Regions from separate parts of the Homo sapiens genome. Here region 2 is linked to region 1. Evidence: promoter capture Hi-C in human tissues and cell types (Jung and others, 2019). All regions are on one chromosome and are shown on one strand. Each heading gives the region's core, a stretch centred on a gene start or on the middle of the fragment in contact. The rest is flanking DNA. Distances are from core to core; before and after follow the strand shown. Region 1 holds the start of TWF1 (twinfilin actin binding protein 1). Region 2 overlaps ARID2 (AT-rich interaction domain 2).

What was found. The method cuts DNA at HindIII sites, captures the fragments that hold promoters and counts their contacts. A contact is called where the count stands out against the background at its distance.
Region 2: a fragment that was not itself captured here is called in contact with the fragment with the promoter of TWF1 in region 1 in 1 of the 25 tissues and cell types used here (dorsolateral prefrontal cortex).

The regions. Positions count from the first base shown.
Region 1 is chr12:43,804,497-43,808,844 of GRCh38, forward strand. It overlaps TWF1 (twinfilin actin binding protein 1), which reads right to left and starts at 1,821. Exons shown (of 9, transcript NM_002822.5): 1 at 1,725-1,821; 2 at 1-76. The coding sequence starts at 1,749. It also overlaps a transcript of TMEM117 not described here. RefSeq lists a silencer at 1,517-1,996. The HindIII fragment of the contact is 9,263 bases long and covers 1-4,348 here.
Region 2 is chr12:45,744,315-45,748,662 of GRCh38, forward strand. The region is part of intron 3 of ARID2 (AT-rich interaction domain 2); the gene reads left to right. Among named protein-coding and RNA genes, the nearest start is that of ARID2, 17 kb to the left of the region's middle. The HindIII fragment of the contact is 3,797 bases long and covers 504-4,300 here.

The sequences.
Region 1 (4,348 bases), core at 571-3,070:
TTTTCAATAGATATTTTCAGAAGTCTGTACTTTCCATTTCTGGCTCTGGCAAAGATCTCTTTAACATCTTCACTTGCTGTGGAAAAAGATAAAGAAAGTAAACTTTTTATACTTACATATAAATACTTTCCTATCTATATTGGAAAAGTTAATTAGAATACAAAGAAAAAATCTGGAGCATGTAGCATCCTTATTATCAGTATTATAAAACTTTACCGCATAAAATAACGAAGACTGTATACAATTAAGAAATATAAATATTAGCATTTTAAAAGTATGTTAATAATTCTAATCTGTTTTAGCTACATAATTCTGTGCAGAAATAACACTGGGGTGAATATACTGAAGTTACTCAAACCCAATAATGAGCAAATTACAATTTTGAAAAACTTTTCTTGCTCTTTTGAAAAATATTGAAAACCTGCTTTCATTCTCTAATTCAGTTTCAAGCTTATGACAGACACTCCTTCATCAATTCACTTTCTGTATTTTCCCGTTAAAAACAACAGTATATATCAAATATCCTAACTTGTTTAAAGAAAAAGACAATAAAATGCATTCAGTCTTAACTCTGGTTATATTTTTCTAACTTGCATTTCTCAAAAGCTAGATTAAACTCATTGAATAAATATGTATTTAATAACTAACCCTTGTGTTCCTATTAAAGCTTCAATTTCGTTCTAATTTCGTTCCTGTGTTGTCTATTAGCAGCAAGAACCACTATGTAAGTAGGTAGTGCTTGCTATAAGGCTCAAGCATGAGAGTCAATAACTACATATTTATATATCGAAATTAATGCGGATAAATAAAACAAAGTTTTCAGATTTGAGACTATTTTGCTTCTGCGTGCGTGCAGGGGGATGTGTGCGGTGGTGTCAAAAATCTTTACGAATAAAACATACAATTAAGTGTTCATCTGGGAGAAAGACTCGCTATTAACAGTAAGAGCTTGAGTTTACACTAGAACTCGTTAAGTGATCGCGAGTAACCCGGGGATATATTATTTGACTCTTGATGAGGTGAGTACCTGCAGGCTGCCCAATTTCAAACCAGGAAATAATGGAGGTCAGATATAACTGCATATTGAACTGTCTGCACGCATTACATGCAACCATACAGATCAGTTTCCCTTGGGGAGTATCTAGGAAAAAGATCAAAACACACGCTTACACTCGAGATTTCTCAGAACATAACTCTCATTTTCCTATTTGGAGAGAAAATGCGGGAGAGTTTTGGGAAGCACCCCTACTGATGTGAGAAAGATTCTGGCATGGTTCTTTTTGTAATCAAAGTCCTGTAATATTCTCCTTTGGACCATGAAAAAGAAAACTCGCCTGGTTCTCGACAGCGTACTGAAGCCCCAGTCGCCTCCACTGTCCCAGCTCTTCCCTACGTGACCAAAAGGGGGAAAGTTGGGCGACTGTCGGGGACGGTGGAAGGCACGCCCCCTTCAACCAGGCCGCCTCGAAAGCCAATTTCCTTCGCTCCCCCGAATTTCGGATCAATCTGCAACGTGACGGCAGCAGGGACCGGGCTGGAGGAGGACGCAGGCCGGCAGCGCCCGGGAAGCAGGAGCGCGGAGAGGCGCCGAGGCCCGGCTCGCCCCGCGAGACCGACTTCCGGAGCTCCCGGCCCGACTCCAGCCCTGCCGGTCCTGCAGCCCTCCCGGCTCTCCCGGCTCTCCCGGAAGCCCCTTCCCTGCGAGTCGCGCCGGGCGCTGTTACCTTGGATGCCGGTCTGGTGGGACATGGCGGCGGCCGCTAGCTCCCGGCTCCGGCGCTGAGTGCAGCCAGCGGCCCCGGCCGGCGGCCCCAGGAAGTGGCTGCTCCTCCGCCGGCCCCGGCGCGTCATCCGCCCGCGACCCGCGGCCGCCCCGCCCCGTGAGGTTGACTGAGTGCCCGAGCGTCCCCGCCGCCCCGCCGCCCTTCCTGGCCGCCGGGCTGCGGTCCAGCCCCCGGCCTCGCTATCCTAGTTCTCTGCTTGGGGTCCTGCTTCTGCTCTTGCCGCCGCCTCTCCCGCTTCTTCCGGGGGGGACATGCCGCAGAATCTAGACTGCTCAGTGCTCCGACGTCTGCTCTCTGACAACCCCGCCGACGCCGCCATTCGCTGCCTCAGCAAAGGGGTGCTCAAAAACGGAAGTGATCATTTTACCAAATAGGCATTTTCCAGCTTAAAAAAGATGTGCACATTATTTTTCTTGGTTTACTCTTCCTATAATCGATACCGTTTAGTGTAGAAAAGCCTTCTCCTTGCTCCATTGTTTTGAAAGAATTAATATAGACTGCCTCTCATCAAATTTTTCCACGATTTTAAATTAAGTTAATCTCAGACTGTTAACTTTTCTTTTCAGCTGGACACATTTAGAGACTCAGTGTATCTTTCTCTTCACTCCGGAAAGAGACAGCCACTAAGAGATTAGCTGATTTGAGTATCCCTCTGTGGTCGATTATACCATTGCAAATCCTGCTCTGCTTTAGGTTGGCAGTTTATTATTTAATCCAGTAATTATTCAAAATTCACTTGGACAGATTTGTAAGGTAGCAGCAGATATTACTTAAAAATCTTTTCCTTTCCTGCTTTTACAAACATGTAGTTCCTTCCTGAAAGGTAATGTTAGTTTTGTGGGGGGTTTGGTTTTTTTTTGGTACTGCTTCTCTACTGCTACTAGGTGGGAAGCTAGTTCTTATTTTTAGGGCCTTGAAGTGACACATACACAAAATTATAATCTGCTAATGAAGAAATAATTTATTCAGGTCAATAATATAAGTGCAAGTTAATCACTGTTCCAGTACTATACGATGTATTTTTCATGAGTGATGAACAGGCCTGCAATTGTTTTTCTTTACAAGAATCACAGCAAACAAGGTTATGTTCTATTGCCTGTTATCTGAGCTCTGTTTTTCAGACATATTCTCATATTCAGGAATAAACTAAATCTGAGTTTTATGACTTGTATGGATTTAAGAAATGTAGGGAGGAGTTTCATTCTAATCAAATTCTTCCTGACACAATGGTTCACCCTGATTTACCAGTTTTTGACTACATTGCTGAGCAGAGAGAAAATTGCAGAGTTGACTTGCAGTATTTTGACTGATTCATGTCCTAGTGCTTCGGGGAAATTGCTTAAGGAAGTTGGCGTTGCTCAAAAGTATAGTTGAGCAAAATATAATCCTTCCATATTCGTGCTTGGGAAAGGCCACTGTATTCTCAGTCCTGAAGAAGAGGAATGTCTAGTTAGGTTGGGACCACCCTGACAGCCACCAGAAAGTGCTTATTTACTGCCAGTACAATAGTTTGACTTAAAAGCTGCAAGCGTCTTGGGTACCTTGCTCTGCTCTAGCCACAAATATTTTCCCACTTTTCTTCATCTATTGTGTCTCCATTTAGTGAACATTTGCCAGAGCTGTCATGAGAATAATACCTTAGATTTGTATGGTAGTTTACAGTTTACAAATAATATATAATAGACTTATTTTGAGTACCAACATCCTGTGTGACGAGCTGAAAAAAATAGCAGGTTTTGTTTTTTAACTTTAAGAGGTTTGGAAATTGAACCACAGAGTTGGGAAGTCAGCAGGTTTCAAGGCTAAGACAAGTGTCTGTAAGAAACAAACCATTTGAAAACAATGTATGCAGATAAGAGGGTTTATTATAAGGATATTGGAGGATCTTATAGATCTTGACAACTTGGTTGTCACCTCTGCTTTTCTCTTCTTTTTCTCCAAATAAGATCTCTCTGCTTGTGCAGTCAAAATGGCTGAATATGGCTACCCTACACTTTCCAAATTGACAGGGTTGTAGCTGCATGCAGAGATTACATAGCTCTTCTAAGTCCAAGTTTAAAGTTCCTAAGAGAAAGCACGTGAATGACCCTGCTTGGCTTGTGTCAAATCATTCTTGGCCAAGGTGGCTGGTTTACCCAATATACACTGCCCATGAGTGAAAGGCAATTATCACAGGAGGGGAGATGGATCTTGGGTGTGGGAAACAGGTGTAGAATTCCTACTTTTTACAGTTTGGTAGAGGTAATGTTTAGAACCTAAGATGGTGGTCACAAAACACAAATGCTTATGGGGTCAGTTAAATAACATAAATGAATGAAGCTAATAAATGGAGACTGTGGCAATGAGAGGGAGCACAGGATCCATCTAAAATGAGCTACTACTAGGCCAAGTGGGATGGCTGACACCTGTAGTCCCAGCTCTCAGGAGGCTGATGTGGGAGGATCACTTGAGTCCAGGAGGTAGAGGCTGCAATGAGCCATGATCACCCCACTACACTCCAGCCTGGGCAACAGACCCTGTCTCAAAGGGGAGAAAAAAAAAAAAAAAAAAAAAAAGGAGCTACT
Region 2 (4,348 bases), core at 1,152-3,651, 1.9 Mb after region 1:
ATGAGTGGTATTGTTAGACTTAGAAATCAGATTTAGTGATTTTTTTGTGTTATCTACTACAGTTTAGTATCTTTTTTTTAATCCATAGGTATTATCTATATTTAAGAGAGGGGCTAATGATGAACATTACATTTTTAAAATTCCATTTTTGCACCTTATATTTGAATATGAGTGTTTCTTATGTTCCAAGAATTTAACACAAAAATACAAGTCAGCTACAGTGCTGATAAATTTGGAGGAAAATTATCTTTCTTTTTCTATCTATGAAACAGTTTTTGCTCTTTTGTTCTTTGCTGGCCATTGATTACATTACTTGATATTTAATAATAAGGCAATAATTTAAATTATTGCTTGATTTTTATATTCTCAAGATGAGAAATAATTATTTTAGTCTTACAAGTCTTCATTATAGGTTAATGAACCCCCTAAAGAAGAAAAGCAAATTTGTACTTTAATCACAGTCAGAAATCTTATGTTTGTTTGCGTGAATCCATTTAAATTCATCAATGCTAAATTAAATGTGTTATGTTTTTACATAGTATATTTGATCCTCACAATTAATCATAATTTGGTTATTGAAAAAATCTTCCTAGTTCTGAGAATTGCTTGGAACATCCCTCCTTCTTTGGCCCCCTCTTTATAAACTATGGAGGTTAGCTTAAATGTGTGTGTTTGTGCAGGCACGTGTGTGTGTAAGCAGCACTCTTTAGAGTTTTAAGCAAACTGTTTGGTGATTTATTGATCAGTTCTTGCTCATAACCAGTCTTATAGGAATTTACCAAGCCTTACATATTTAAAGGGCTAAGTTGAAGTGGATATTAGCTATTGTATACAAACTTAATGTTTTGTAGAAGCCCAGTAGTATAGCTTTCAGCACCTGAAAATTTAGATTCCTAAAGACAGGAGCAAGAAGTGTGTAGTTAGCTATAATTGGATATGGCTACTGAATTTATTTATTGATTTGTAGTATCGTCAGTCTTAATACTAGAAAGGATTTTAAGAAGATGGTCTAGCCCTCTGCTTTCTGGAAGGGTAGAAATAAGGATACTTTTCCAGGTAGGCCTGCGTGGGGATAATTGACTTGCCTAAGATTATTACTACTGAATGATGGAAGGGAAAAGTAGAAACCAAATCAGATCTGCATTTATTACACTAACCACTCCATTCTGTTTTAAAAGGAATAATTTTAGAAGACTATCAGAGATTTCTTTGCTATATAAAACGGGGCCTTTATTTATTATTATTATTTTTGAGACAAAGTCTCACTATGTCACCCAGGCTAGAATGCAGTGGCGCAATCTCGGCTCACTGCAACCTCCACCTCCTGGGTTCAAGTGATTCTCATGTTTCAGTCTCCTGAGTAGGTGGGACTACAGGCACACAACAACATGCCTGGCTAATTTTTTTGTACGTTTAGTAGAGACAGGGTTTCGTCATTTGGCCAGGCTGTTCTCGAACTCCTGGCCTCAAGTGATCTGCCCGCCTTGGCCTCCCAAAGTGCTGGGATTACAGGCATGAGCCACTGCGCCTGGCCTGGTTTTATGTTAAGATGATTCTGCTGACTTATACTAAGAGAGAAAAAACACTTTTTACTGCAAATATTCTTTATATTAAATATTTTACTCGTAAAAACCTAAACTTACATATTTGATAAAGCTTATATATTTGATAGTTGTTTTTTTTTTTAAATAACCAAGGATACTCATTTAAAGGTTAGTCTAGTACATAATTTTTTAGATGGAGACCTCTACTGGAAGTATGAAGTAATAGATAGATTCTGGTTTGATTTTTTTTTTTTTTTCCTTTGGAGACAGGATCTTGCTCTGCCACCCAGGCTGGAGAATGAAGAGTAGTGGTGCAATCATGGTTCACTGCAGCCTCAACCTTCTTGGCTTAAGAGATCCTCCTACTTCAGCCTCCCTAGTAACTAGGACTACAGGTGTGTGCCACCATACCTGGCTGATGTGTAAAGATTTTGTAGAGACCAGGGCTTTCTGTGTTGCCCAGGATGGTTTCCAACTCCTGGCCTCAAGTGATCCTCCTGGCTTGGCCTCCCAAAGTGTTGGGATTGCAGACCTGAGCCACCCACCCAGCCTGATTCTATTACTGTAAATATCTAGACAAAGGGATGGTAGGGAGATATGTTTTAAAAACAGTCAATGTAACATATGCTAAAGTTTTTTTTTTAAGTATTTTTCTTATGAAACTTTAATAGTATACTTTTGGTTTATGATACCATGTTGAATCTTTTAAAAAGCAGACTATTAAGTTTATATTTTTTTAGCTAACATTTATTTAATTTGCCATGTGCCGGGCACTGCACCAAGTGGTAACTCATTTTCTCTTCACACCTCCCTATGACATAGATACTGTTAATATCCTGGTATTATAGATGAGAAAACAGGACAAAGGTGTTTAAGAACCTTGCCCAGGTTCACACAGTAAGTTCTGGATCTAGTATTTTTTTTTTGAGACGGAGTCTCGCTCTGTCACCCAGGCTGGAGTGCAGTGGCGCGATCGAGGCTCACTGCAAGCTCCGCCTTCCGGGTTCACGCCATTCTCCTGCCTCAGCCTCCCGAGTAGCTGGGACTACAGGCGCTCGCCACCATGCCCAGCTAATTTTTCTTTGTATTTTAGGTAGAGATGGGGTTTCACCGTGTTAGCCAGGATGTTCTCGAACTCCTGACCTTGTGATCCGCCCGCCTCAGCCTCCCAAAGTGTTGGGATTACAGGCGTGAGCCACCGTGCCCGGCTGGACCTAGTATTTAAACCTGGAATCTAGGCATATTATACTGTCTTCCCCCAATTCACATGAATATAATTTTATTAAAAAGTATTTGAAGATAAGGACTTCAAGGGAATAAAAATATGAAAATGGTTAGGGTAGTTGTGGGATTGTGGCTTTTTATTTTTATTTAAAAAATTCTTTAATGTATCTTTTTGTAATAACGTGTGTGTTGCTGTACAGTTTATAGTTTATTTTTACAAATATTTATCTCAGTGGATTTTTGCAACAACTCTAGGAAATAGGTATTATCCTCTTGTAGATCAGGGAAAAAGCCTGTAAGTACCATTGCTAGTGCAGAATTAGAGTTTAGTTTTGTGAGTTATAGTGTACTGCTCCTAGTTTACTATCAGAGTCTTGGGGTCAAGGATTTTTTTTTTTTAATGGCAATGCACTTTTTGGCATCTGATACATTGTAGCTGAACTGAATTAGGATCTCCTGTCACTTGGGGAGCTTCTTATGAACTCAGGTGGGTATGGTAGGCCTCTCAGCAAGTGGGAAATCTAATTTGGGAAATTCTGAAAGAATTGAAAATTTCTAACTTACAGAATTAATAGTATAGCATTTCATTCGTCTGTCCCTAAAGCTTAACATTTTTTTGTGTGGTTTTATTAAACAAGCATCAAGAGTCAGTTGTAGTTGTAGAATATTAATTAACATTGTGGTAAATGTGTCATTTTGTGCAATTCTATGCAGTACTTGAAGTTGTTTTTAAGTAAAATAGACACTAATGTCTCCCTATCTGTCTTCACAAGCTACAATATGAGACTAGAGAGTCTTGTGTAGGGTAAGATTTGAGAGAGTAATACAGACATGCCTGAGAGATGCTGTGGGTTTGATTCCAGACCACCACATTAATATATATGATAGTAAAATGAGAGTGAATTTTTTGGTTTCCCAGTGCACAGACAAGTTATGTTTATATTATACTGTAGTATATTAATTGTTCAGTAGCATTATGTCTCAAATAACAATGTACGGCCAGGTGTGGTGGCTCAACGCCTGTAGGCCCAGCACTTTGTGAGGCTGAGGCAGGAGGATTGCTTGAGGCCAGGAGTTTGAGACAACCTAGGCAGTCTCAAGCTGCCTAGTGAGTTTGAGACGTAGTGAGACCCTGTCTCTACAAAAGAAAATGTTTTAAGTAGCTGGTTATGATGGTGCATATCTGTGGTCCCAGATACTTGGGAGGCTGAGGTGGAAGGATTGCTTGAGCCTGGGAGGTTGAGGCTGCAGTGAGCCATGATTGTGCCACTGGACTCCATCTAGCCTGGACAATAGAATGATACCTTGTCTCAAAAAAAAGAAAACAAAAATACTTTATTGCTGAAAAGTGCTGACAATCATCTGAGTTTTCAGTGAGTCATAATCTTTTTACTGGTGAAAGGTCTTGCCTTGATATTGATGGCTGCTGACTGATCAGGGTGGTGGTTACTGAAGATTGGGGTGGATGTGGAAATTTCTTAAGACAACAATGAAGTTTGCTGCATCGATCAACTCTTTCTTTCACGAGAGGTTTCTCTGTAGCATGTAATGCTGTTTGGTAGCAAATTACCCACAGTAGA